2 separate regions of the Homo sapiens genome follow, and region 2 is linked to region 1. The links are contacts of gene promoters, found by promoter capture Hi-C in blood cells and fetal thymus (Javierre and others, 2016). All regions are on one chromosome and are shown on one strand. Each heading gives the region's core, a stretch centred on a gene start or on the middle of the fragment in contact. The rest is flanking DNA. Distances are from core to core; before and after follow the strand shown. Region 1 holds the start of PLCB1 (phospholipase C beta 1). Region 2 overlaps PLCB1 (phospholipase C beta 1).

The links. The method cuts DNA at HindIII sites, captures the fragments that hold promoters and counts their contacts. A CHiCAGO score of 5 or more calls a contact.
Region 2: a contact is called between a fragment that was not itself captured here and the fragment with the promoter of PLCB1 in region 1, in 1 of 17 cell types (M0 macrophages). The highest score is 5.2, in M0 macrophages.

Annotation. Positions count from the first base shown.
Region 1 is chr20:8,129,595-8,136,061 of GRCh38, reverse strand. It overlaps PLCB1 (phospholipase C beta 1), which reads right to left and starts at 3,796. Exons shown (of 32, transcript NM_015192.4): 1 at 3,312-3,796. The coding sequence starts at 3,410. RefSeq lists a silencer at 3,571-3,710. The HindIII fragment of the contact is 1,963 bases long and covers 3,144-5,106 here.
Region 2 is chr20:8,389,893-8,396,359 of GRCh38, reverse strand. All of the region lies in intron 3 of PLCB1 (phospholipase C beta 1), which reads right to left. Among named protein-coding and RNA genes, the nearest start is that of PLCB1-IT1, 140 kb to the right of the region's middle. The HindIII fragment of the contact is 4,725 bases long and covers 1,479-6,203 here.

The sequences.
Region 1 (6,467 bases), core at 2,547-5,046:
AGGCATGGAAAACAGGGCCAAATCAGTGGCTGGGGGTCCTATTGTACAGTTTACAGTCCTTGCTCTTTCTCTCCATGTCCTGCCCAATATAGACCAAGGCCAAGATCCAGAAGAGAGAGGAGCTTCTCTCACAATCTCCCAAGCTCCCTAGCTTAGATCAAGAAAGTAACTCTCCTTCCACTGTCTACCTCACCAGAATTCTCCCACAAATACCCATAGTCCTTTACACCCACCTCCTACCACCAGAGCCTGCTAACAGACAAATGCAAAACAAAAGCAAAGACATGAGGTTGAATTTTTTAAATATCATTAGGTCAGTCCTTTATCTTCATGCCAAGTTCAGAAGGACAGGTATAGCCTTGATGTTCAGACAATATACACCATGAGTTTTAAAATACTGAAATAGTCAAAAAAACTCCAGCTACCTACCCACCCATCCACAGACCCTGGGGACTCCCAGACCTCCCCATGACCAAGCAGCAAAAATATTAACGCCTGGCCCTGGTACAACAGGGTATCTCCAGGATCTATTACCCCCCTGCTGTCTGTTGTGATTGTTTAGTGCCTATGTTAAAGCTTTCGACTACCACCCTTAGAGCATCCACAGCCTCACTGTGACTTGGTAGGTGGCCAGCAAATTATGCATGGCACTGCAACCTCTGGGTGACATCTTCCATTCCATATGGTGGTCAAGACAACAAGACCAGTGATTATACTGCTTTAATCACTTCAGGAACAAGAGATAATTTCTTCACATCCTAAACAGCCCCAAATTCATCATTTTTGAATGTCCTGTAACATTACCACGCTTTTACACAAGAAGCAGCAAAAATACAGAGAAGCTAAGTGATTTGCCTAAAGTCATGCAGCTTACTGGTGAAAGAACTAGGAGGTAAACTCAGGCCTTTGATTCAAGATCTGGTTCTTTTTTGTCTTCAACACACTGTCTCACTAAGGTACAATATAAATAGCCAGATAACTTGAACTGGCTTGATTCTGGAAGGGCAAATACGAGCTGAGAAGAGTAGAAAAGGGATGCCTGGGGAAGAGAAAGGCAACCTTAAGAAAGGCTGGGTCCCTTGTAGTCCACTGATCAGCATGAAGACCCAGAGAACCAAAGAGCCTGCAAGATAGCTCATTATATTCCAGATAACTTGACTCCTGAGTGCAGTCTAGGTTTTTTTTTTTTTTTTAAAAAAGACCTGAAATTCTTCTGGTCTTCTCCTTAGTGACTATGTCCTTTCTTTCAGGAGGGCTTCCTTGGAAACTCACTGCTGCAATGCTCAGAAGGAGCTCTTTTCAACTTCTTCTTTGGTTGGTATTTCACTAACGTCCTCTCTATTACCCTCAATGCATCACCCAATCTCTCTCTCATTGGTGTTTTTGATGATTTTTGTCTCCTCCACCTAGCATGTAAGGTCCGTAACAGCAGGGATTTTGTCTACTTTTTTCACCACCCCAGAATCCAGTCTAGGATTGGCAGTAATAGGTGAGCAAGAAATATGTGTTACAGAAATGCACATAATGAAAGTCATCTACCTGGATATACCAAAATGTGTTTTCATAGAATACTTTCATTCTCAATGTGATGTTGGCTATTCTCTCCCAAACAAGAAATTATAGAGAATTATTTAAAATACAGTTTAGAATCATCACTGTATACAAATCCAGAGCTTACGCTGAAACTCCCTTTTCTAAATTCTGCAAAGTCTCTTTCTCTTTCCTCTGCCCTTCACTCTCTTTCTCAGTAAATCCATCATCACATCACCTCTCTATTCAAGGATCTCAAAATGGGCAAGACCGTCTTGTTTATTGCTGAACTGCATTTTCTTTGTCTTTTTTTTCCCTGACACAAAGCATTTAATCTGCGTCTGAATTTATTGTTTAGATTCTATTCCATTTACAGAAACATTCAGTACAATTAGACTGGAACAGAAAGAAGAAAAGTGTGAAGCCCATGGTAAAAAGATGTATGTTTACATCCTTGCCTACAGCATTTAATAATTGGCACGAGCTTTCAAGGAAGCTGTGGTTCATACTCCAAGTTCCGTTTGCGCTTCCAGCTGGACAAAATATAGACACAGACGCACTCAGCTAAGTAATTGGATTCACTACCTGGAATATTTAAATTGTTTTCAGACACTGGAAAATGGCTTAAGAAGATTAAAGAAAAATACCCTAGAGGATAACAGGCTATAATTTACTAGGTGGAAAATCTTTTCGGCAAGAAGAACGCCTCATTCTCCTATAATTCCTTCTGATTAAGAGATGTATTAGTCATTTGGACTTAAATTTGCTTAGAGCCTGGCAACTCGGGTTTATTTCAGTAGGTTTTTCTTATCGAACCTTTAGAATGACACCCAGGACATAAAACTGATACCATAATGTTCTCCATCCGAAGATTCGCATGTTTTCAGCTGGATAACTAATTTACGTGTTTTGAAGACAACTGGGGTAGAGGGGAAGGGGAAGTCATTTGAAGTCCTGGGGTCTGGGCCGCTCGTAAAGCATTAGAGACCCCGGCGCTGGGCTAGGCTCTGCCCTACCTGGCAAACGGTGCAGGTAAATCGTGGGGCAAACTCTCAACCTGTCTATTTCAGGCAGAAGACTCCAATCAGCTCAGTTCTCAAAAGTCAGCCCTCCCCACTTGCCTGCAGGCCCATGAGCCCTCCAGGACCCCTCAAGGGCCCCCATTCTGTTCACGCCCTCCCCAGATGTGTCCCCGCAGCCCTTTTCAGGGACCCTCACTCCGGAGCCAGGCGCTGAAGTTTGGCATCAACGACCACCTGTTGGCTGGACCGTTGTGTCCTCCGCCGCCTTGGCTCCCACAAAAGCGCCAAGAGGGTTCGCAATCACTAAAGTGTTTTGAACTTCAGGTCCTTCCTTCTTGAAATCGGGCAAAAGAGGTAATAGGGGGTGCGTCCGCAGGCGGAGAGGGACGCGATTTGTTCACACCAGGCGCTTTCCAGTTGGTCCCAACTTCACACTCCCTACTTTCCGAACTCTCAGGACCTGTCACCAGGCAAAGCTTGCCCCTCCCTCTCCACTGGCCCAAAAGATGTAAGACCCTCAGGGGGCGCCTGCCAGACCCAGAAAGGATGGCAACTACTGAAGCCCGATGAAACAGGAGCGCGCGCAAAGCTTCTGCCCTTGGACATCCGCTTTGGCAGATGCCAACCTGTGCGCCCGAGGCTGCCCCTGCCCGCTCCCAGTGCGCCCATTGCATAACGCGCCCCTTGCCCCACCCCCACGACGCCCGCCCTGCCCGGTGCCCGAGCCAGCGCCCCGACTCGGGCCGCCCCAATACTTACATCATCCCACTTGACGAATTTGGTGCCCTTCTTGAGGCTGTCGGACACGCACACGGGCTTGAGTTGCAAGGCGTGCACTCCGGGTTGAGCCCCGGCCATCTGGGCTCATCTGGGCTCCGGGCGGCCCGGGCGAGCGCGGCAGGGACTGGGGACCGTGCGCGGGGCGCGGGGCGCGGGGCGCGGGCTCCTTTCTCTGCTCCGGAGGCGCTCGACTCTGCTCCCCGCCGGCCTCCCCGGCCTCCCGGCCTCCGCACCTCCCTCCGGCGCCGCTCAGCAGGCAGAGCGCGCGGGGGCGCAGCGCCCGGCCATGCCCCGGGCGGGACGCGAGGTCTGGAGCCCGCGGTGGATGAGGAGCCTCGGAAGGCGAAGAGAAGCCGAGCCGGTCAGCCGAGGCTGCCAGTCGCGGCGGATTCTGCTCCTCCGCCGCCGCCGCCTCAAAGCGCACCATTCAGCACATCCTCTATACACAGAGGGAGAGAGCGAGTGACACACGCCCGGCGCCCCCCCTAACCGCTCTTTTCCCTCCTCCCTCCTCCTCCCCCCCGCCCCCCTTCCCCGCCACCCTCGCTCGCTGGGTCCTTCCTTCCCCCCGCGGCTCCCAGCCCAACTTTGCACGCTGGGTCAGGCGCCAGGAAGCGGGGACGCAGCGGCACCTCCTGGCTCCCGAGCCCCATTGCAGCCAACGCCTGCCTCCCGCATTCGCTCTGAGCATGCCCCGTGCCCTGGTTGCAGAGGTGCTAGGGGTCCCCAGGAGCCTTACGCTCTTTGGGGTTTTCTTGGGAATTTGGGCTCGAGCTCCGGAGCGTCTTTGGATCCCAACTGGCTGGGAAAAGGGGCCCATCGGGAGGAACCAAAGAGGCAACCCCTGGCTTTTGGCTCTAGCTGGAGCTCTCCAGCGCCAGCCACAAACCAGCTTTTTGAAGAGAATTATCATTTATCAGCAGAGAAGAGCGCAGTTGAGAGGCTCTTTGAGGAAACCTGGCCGCGCCTGAGAGTTTGCAGCGCGCTGATCTTGAAACCCGGGCAAACGGTTACGTTGTGCTTTCGAGACAGAAAGCCCATCCTAAAGAAAGCAAAGGTTTTATTTTCCGAGGAAGAAAGAGGGTGCCCTCTCCCGCTCCTCTCCTTGAGTGTGTAGGATGTGTGGCGGGTGGGGGAGAGTCTTATTAATAGAAACTTGCTCATTTAGGAACATAGGTCCAGGAATGTTTGTCTTCACTCCTTCCACAAACATTTCTCAATTCAAGAAAGAAAGGGAGGGAGGGAGGGAAGAAGGGAAAGAGGAGGACCAGAATGGATAAAATTTTAAAGACTGGTAATACCAAATGCTTGAAAGGATGTGGAGCAACTGGAACTCTTTTTTTTTTTTTATTAAGGAGAGAGAGGAGAGGGAGAGAGAGAGTGAGTGAGTGTGAGAGAGAGAAAGAGAGAGAGAGAGAGACACACGCGGGAGGTGGGGGGGCGGAGAGAGAAATAGCTTGGAACTCTTGTTCATTGCTGGAGGGAATATAAAATAGTAAAACCACTTTGGAGAATAGTTTCTTATAAAGTAAGATATTTACTTATCATACAACCTAGAAATTCCACTCCTAAGTATTTGTCCAAAAGAAATGAAAACGTTCAAGTCTGCAGGGACTTGTAAAGTGATGTGAAGAACTTTCTTCTTAGTAGCCTGCAAATGTCAATCAACAGGTGAATGGATAAACAAACTGTGGTATGCCCAAATATTGGAATACTATTCCACAATAAAAATGAGTGGGCATGCAAGATCAGGGATGAATCGCGACTTTAAGCTTTGTAAAAGAAGCCGGACACGATAGACTGTATGCTGCCTGATTCCATGTGTAGGAATTGCAGAATAGGCAAGATATTCTATGTTGACAGAAAGCTTGCCTGTGGCCAGGGATAGGTAGAGATGGACAGGGAAGGGCTACGAGCACCTGATGAGCATGTCGGAAATGTTCTATATCGTGTGTGTGTTTATCAAAACTTGTAAGTTCTGTAAGTACGCCTAAATTGAGTGCAGTTTGTTTTAAATAAATTATATCTCAAAAAGGTTGATTTTTAAAAAGAAGAAAGAATACGAAGAGAGAAAAATGGAGAGAAACACTACATTCTCTTAATCCTTCATTCTCCCTGTTCTCTGCCCTCAGGACTCCAAGGCCCAATGCTTATGAACTCAGTCAAAAGATTACCAAAATCCAATACAGAAATTTGCTATTAAATATTTCAATGCATTTAAAATATACTTATTGGTAGCCAGCTGTATACTAGCCACTATTGTAATCACCATGGATAACCTGGTGAACAAGACCCATGACTCTTGCTGTCATTTGAGGGTCTTGCCTTGTGCTTGGAAGCCAATTGCTACAAAGAATTTCATGAAAAACTGACTGGTTTCATTTTGATCACATGTCCCTAAACTAAAACCTGAATGGTCCACAGTCCCTCTAGCCAGCAGCCTTGGCTTGCTAATTACCTCACAGAAGGTATCAGTCACCGTCTCAAGTCGATTTTCTCTACTTCAGAGTACTGCAATGAAACTCTGCTTCCAGGGCTCCAGAACTTCTCAATTGTCCTTACAACTGATCATACCAAATTGTTTTCCTTTCCTTTCCTTTCCTTTCCTTTCCTCCTTTCCTTTCCTTTCTTTTCCTTTTCTCCTTCTATCTCTTTGTTATTTACTGGAAAGATTATTGGCCAAATAGTTTTTACCTGTCACAGTGGCTTAGGAAGGCAAGACAGGGCTGCGCTCACTAGAAGAGGAGATTGGAGAGTTACAATGAGCTCTAAGCAAAATAAGAAGTAGATTGAGCCTCCTGTGGTAGTTTATTGCATCATAGCTCTCTGCTCCCTGCTCCTTTCTGCGTCCACACATTTTTCTTTGTGACCTTACAGTTTTTACTAGACACCCTGTTTATTTATCCATCCCATTGATGTTGGACAATGTGACTTGCTTTGGCCAATGGCATGTTTGAAGATGTGATATTAGCAAAGGCTCAAAATATGCTTTGAGGTTGGGCTTTCCCTCTTGGGTTTCTTATCATTTCCATGAGATAAACATGCCTCAGGGAGCCTCTGATCTAAGGAGACAATCAGGACAGACCTAAGCCCCATTTACAGCTTGGAAGCAAGTCCAGTAGAAACCATCCTAGA
Region 2 (6,467 bases), core at 2,592-5,091, 260 kb before region 1:
AAAGCAATATGTTTTGGTTGGATTAAAAGAAATATTTTGAATCCCCTTGGATCCACCACAGATTGAATTTCTGTCCTTGAGTGAACGTTGCCACACCTTATTAATTGAGGTAAAGATGCCATCAACACAGTCAGATGATACTTCTGAACTTTCAGCTCCCCACTTCTGTAGTTATATGGTTTTAGATATATGATTTATTATCTAACATCTTGTTGCCAGAGAAACAAGCTCAACTTACAAAAGTAAGGCATGATTCAGCTCAATATATTACTTTTCTGTTACAACTTTGTAGTTTCTCTGTTTACAATCTAAACAGGGCATGAATATTAGTAAATTACAAGCCGAATATTTGAGGGACATGATTAAAAGAAGCTTGATGAGTTTCCAGACACTTGGAAGAGTTGTAAGCATTTACCAGGAATAATTTAGAATAACATGGTACAGTTAAGTATCAGGGGAAAATATATTTACAGAGAAGAGTATCCATCTATTATGACTTTCTATATTTTATAGTCTAGAATAACAATTTGTTTTTTTTTTAAAATGGGAAAAACAGATTTCTAGTCACACCTTCACAGTATTTCAAATGCTCTACAGTATCCTTCAAATAAATTATTTGACTTAAGAATTCTCAACTCAAACCATGAAATTTTGAGCAGCTAAGCATAAAATTAAATACTGAGTCTAGTTCGCTATTACTTACACAATTTATTCTTTAACATACTTTCTCAAAGTTTTATAAACCACCAACTCATGTGAAATATCCCACTCAATCATCTATTTTTATTTTAGATATTCTAAGAGCTATTCCTTTTCAATATTATGTATAGATAATTTATTTGAAAGCATTATTGACTTTAAAATTGTGTAAACTTAAAATTTAATTTTCCTTATTCAGCCATTCCACATTCTTTGGTATATGTGTAGGACAGAACTAATATAAGAGATCTTAAATTAATTTTATTTAGATTTTCATCTGGTATCCATAAGTAATAATATGTAGACAATGCCTTCTAAAGAATCTTTAATCTTCAAACAAAATTGCAAGCAAATTGATTAATAGAGAAGCATGTTTCAGAGACCCATAAAATAAAATAAATGTCTCATTAACTACTGCTTTCGACAGTAGAGATTTATCTATGGCAAAAATAATAAAGTCAATAGGTGTTCAATTTCCCATATTGTTTGTATGTACCTCAACCAAGGAAACTTCTTTTTAAACTCTTACTAAATTTATTTATACTAAGGTACTATAAGAATCAAGGAAAATGTAATTCATGCACAGATACAAAATGACTAATTTCAACTAAAGAGAGTCAAATTTAATTTTTAATTAACATTCATAGAAAGAAAAATTGTGTTTGCTAAACAATTTTAACCAGGTATTACAAATCTTGAAATAGTCTAGGAAGAAACGATTTAATTTAAAAGTTTAACATGACCTTACTATTTTTGAAATATGAGTGATGCTCAAAGCTTTTGAAAAATATTGTTAAAGATACCATTAAAAGTGAAAACTTTGCCAGATAGAAGCCTATATACTATAGATGGCAAATGCAAATACCTAAAGAAAAACATTGAGAATATGGATGATGCAACCAAGAGTTTAACTTGTCAAATAATGGCACAGCTTCAAGCCTATTAAACATATGCACTAATGGCCTATAGTTTTAAGGATAACAGTAACTACAACTTACAGATCCCCTATTATGAAATATATGTTATGGCCTTTAGTCCTCACAATAACCCTGAGAAATAGTACTATTAACTTCATTTTATGGATGAAGAAAGCAAGACATGAAGTTAAGCAACTTGATTGTGACCACATGAGTAATACTGGTGGAGCCTCTTAACCACTGCTGTTCCCCAGTGTGAGGATACAGAAGCAAAGCCTCACTTTCAGGGCATAAAAGTCAACTCCCATGAACCAGAGAATCATCAGACTTCTTTCTTTCTGCACACACACACCAGGAACCGAAAAGAAACTATGACTATTAAAAGTTATTGCTCCCTAAGTAAGTTCTACCACTTTTAATCTAACCTCAATTCAAGGTTTACCTTGACTTAAAATCCTTCCACAAAGGCCAAGTAGTACCAATTTTATATAAGTCATAAGATGTGAAACCATAGAAAAATAGGCTCTAGAAATAGTTAAGAGTGGACAGAGAATCTCACTCTAGTGGTACACTAGGCATTAGGCTTGTCTAAATGCCAGCATAGATTCCAGGTGCTATGGGAATAAATGAAATTCTTGTGTTTTGAGTAATATGTGGGCAATGCTGATGGTTTTCTGTCATAAGGTCTCAAATTAAAAAAATTAATTAGGTGGGAAGAATGCAAATAGTAAACTTTAAAATTCAAAACATCATAATATAATACAAGACAAAATTCAACATTATATTAATATTATCAAGATATATGAAAAAGGCCTTTCTGGTTTAGATCACCTAAGAACCTGTTCTCTAAACATCTTTAATAGGATCTGCACTACTGTGAAGACAAGCATCACTCATAAACTGGTGTTCTAGTTTATTAAGTGTGGTTAACTTCATAATAAATGGCTTTTAGAACATTTATATTAATCCTATGAGATGCTTGTGACCAAGAGACCCATAGTTAAAGAAAAAAGAAAGAAGTGACACTAACCCATGTCCAACACATCAAAAGCTGTGAGAAATCCTGCAATAAAGGAACCCTTAGCATTTCCCAAACTTATTTGACCAGTCACCCAGGCCGGAGTGCAGTGGTGCAATCACAGTTCACTGCAGCCTTGAACTCTGGACTCAAGAAATCCTCCCGCCTCAGCCTATACTGAGTAGCTGGGAGTATAGGCAGGCATGCACCACTGCATCCACCTATATTTTTTTTAAGAGATAGGGCTTTGGGTCTCAAACTCCTGGCCTCAAGCAATCCTCCTGCTTCGGCCTTCCAAAGTGCTGGTATTACAGATGTGAGCCACCACACCTAGATGACATTTTTATAGCATCTATTAGTATTCCAAGGAACTCACTTGGAGAAACAGTGAGTTTTGGTTTTGATAAAGTATTCTATATACCTGAGGAAAAAAAAATACAATAACTGTTCACAGAGCTATGCCCATTCATGGCAGGCAGTGATGAGCAAATTCTTCTCTCAAGCCCTCTGTTCTTACCTGAAATCAGTAATTCTTGGGTATAAATATAAAAATCAAGCAGCATTTGAGTACAGAAGTACCAGGTGGCATAGAGAAAATGTATTAGGTGTGTGAGGAGAATTTTCTGATCTTTTAATCTCAGTGGTCTTGTCTCACCTTTAAACACCAACAAACATACTGTCTAATTAGTTAGGTTATTCCATCTTCTTGAAATCTCTATGGACATTAATTTCAGGAGTTCCGGAAAACTTTATTTCATCATTAACAAATATCTGTTAAGTGGCAAATATGTTACTATCTTAATTGCCACTTTTCACATAAGATAAATGCCATAGATAGGAATTCTTTCATCTACGAAAATACCTACTATGGGTCATGTATCACATCCAAAGGCAGTGATATAGGATTTCACTTTTTTATGGTACATTGAAGGAATTTAAGAATTTTCAGCCATTTCCCATTCAAAGAAGACAAAACACAAATTTCTCAGAATAAACTGGTATACATTCCTAAGTTCCTTCCACTCTACCCAACTTACTCACAAATTGATATTACTATATCACACATTATGGCTGGCAAATCCATTTGAGAGATGTATATCATTTAGTTCTCCCAATAGCTCCATGATGGATACAAATATTACCTTTAGTCCCCAGGGATCATCCTGCTTGTCTCTTTCATTTTTTATGAGGAAGGTGAGATTCCTAAAAGATGGTATGACTCTACCCAGGTTATTCCATCAGCTGCAGTACCCAAATTAAAAACTAGTATCTTAGTCTATGTGTGCTACTATAACAAACAGACCGGCCAATTTATAAGCAAAGATCTGTCAGGTGGGAAATATTTACAGAAATTTATTTTCCACAGATGTGAAGGCTGGGAGGCTCAAAATCAAGGCGTAGACAGGTTCCGTGTCTGGTGAGGGATGCTCTCTGTTTCAAGGTGGCATTTCGAATGCTGTGTCCTCAGATGGGCCAAGGAGGAAGGGCAAAAAAGACTGAACCTTGAGTGAAATCTCTTTTATAAGGACCTTAATCACATTCATGAGGGAGGAGTTCTCATTGCCTAATCACCTTCAAAAGGCCACAACTTTAAATACTATTGCATCGGCGATTAAGTTTCAACATGAATATTGGAGGGGACGCAAACTTTCAAACTATAGGAACTCGCTGCTCATAAACTGGACAGTGCCCAGTTTATTATGAGTCCTAAAGCTGAAAAGGAATTGTAATGATATACTCCATATTTTCAGAGAATATTCCCATTTCAAAATGTTTCTTTCGTTAAATTACATCCCAGTATTTTCCCCTGCTGGAACATGTATCAAATTACATGCCACATTAGTTTATGACCTAATCTCCAAAATTGAGGAAGTTCAAGTAATATATATATATGTGTGTGTATATATATATATATATATATATATATATATATATATATACACACACATATATATATATATACTTCATTATTTACCAGTCTCACAGAACATTAAGAAGAATACACTGAAAAGTGAACTTAAGGCCCATAGGGAAGTAAGTAGTATCAAACATTATGATTTATGTCTTGTTACCAGTTAAAATCCAACTAGCAAGACAAATCAATACAGCAAGTATTATCATTCACAGGGAAACCAATAAACCTTCCTGGGTTCTCTCAGCTAATAAGTGCACTGGAGTTTGAATCTGGGTCTCTCTGACCCCTAACCTTGTTATTCCATTTCAAAACAGTGCTTTGGATTTTGCTTCAATGACTTCATAGTGCAGAAAAAGATACCCGCATGTTCTTAACTGAAAGTAAATTGCTCTAAAATTATTTTGATGGTTGGAAAATCTATTTAACTGTTGGCAAATCTAGACAGTTTTCTAAATAAGAACTGTAAGTCTTAGTACAACAATATTGCTGTGATAGTTCTCTGGGGGTAGGTGTTTGGCTGCAAAGAGAAATATGCCTCAAGTTCATTTTTCTATAGCTAATACATAGAAGTTAGATTTTAATCAGTAGGTTTAAATGCCACAGCTACAAAAGTATAAATCTCTTATACATAGATTATAGTGACAATCTATATATATAAATATAGATTATAGTGACAATCTATATTAGTGCATGGAATTCTATGGTAAATAGGTAAATTATGCCTATTTAACTTGCTTTTTCCCACTACATCACATACATGTAAGTTATATATTTTATTTACTTAATAATGATGGCAAAATGCATTTAGACAAACAATGGATGTGACAATTGTGTTAGGTGCCTTACGTGCATTTTGTCATTTAGTCCTTACCGCAACTAGATGATATAAACATGGCGATTATTCCTGTAATTCAGATGAAGAAACTAAGTCTCAGAGACATGATATAACTTGCAGGATTATACAGCTTGTTATTGGTGTTGTGGCTTGGCTTTCTGACCCAAGAGCTTGTGACCTTAATAACTATACTCTTATAGGCACTTGCAATACACAAAGACACATACTGGGTGCCCTGGGGCATGCAGAAATTAGTGCTGATAATGCCAAATCAACATATTCTGTACTAAAGCCACTCTGCAAAAGCAATTGTGTATTTCTGAAATGATTCTGACTATGCAGTTTTATCCACATTGACCATTGTATTGATTATAAAGAAAAAAATCTACTTTTCTATATTAAACCAACAGCAAAATAATCATACACTGCTACTCCTTATAAAGAAGCAAATCCTAAGCTAGGCTTTGTAATGTAATGAGGGAACACTGTTAAGGGCTGACTTGTGTCCCCTCAACATTTATATGTTGAAGTATTAACCCCCAGTAATTTAGAAGGTAATAGTATTTAGCAATAGTGCTTTAAAGAGGTAATTAAGTTAAATGCATTCATGAGGGTGGGCCCTAATGCAATACAACTTGTTCCTTATTAGAAGAGGAAATTAGGAATAGAAACAGAGGGAGGACCACGTGAAGATGCGGGGAAGGCAGCCATCTGTAAGCCGAGGAGAAAGGCCTCCAAAGAAAATAACCCTGCTGGCACTTTTGTCTCAGACTTCCCGCTCCCAGAATTGTGAGAGAATAAACTTCTGTTGTTTAAGCTTTAAGCCACTTAGCCTGTGGTACTTTGCTGTGGTAACCAGAGAAGACTGATACAAGTACCGTGGTGTACTTCTCTACATTAAGTATAGTGGTCAAGTTTAAGGAAAACTTGACTGAAAAGTGGTCCTTTTGACAAGCATATTTTGTAGGAAAATTCTCAATGCTTTTCTGTGTAAAATCTCTATTTTCAAAAGAGAAATCATCCATTTAAGCTGGTACTCTTTTTACTTAGACGAATGGTTTTGAAACTTGGTTGAACACTGGA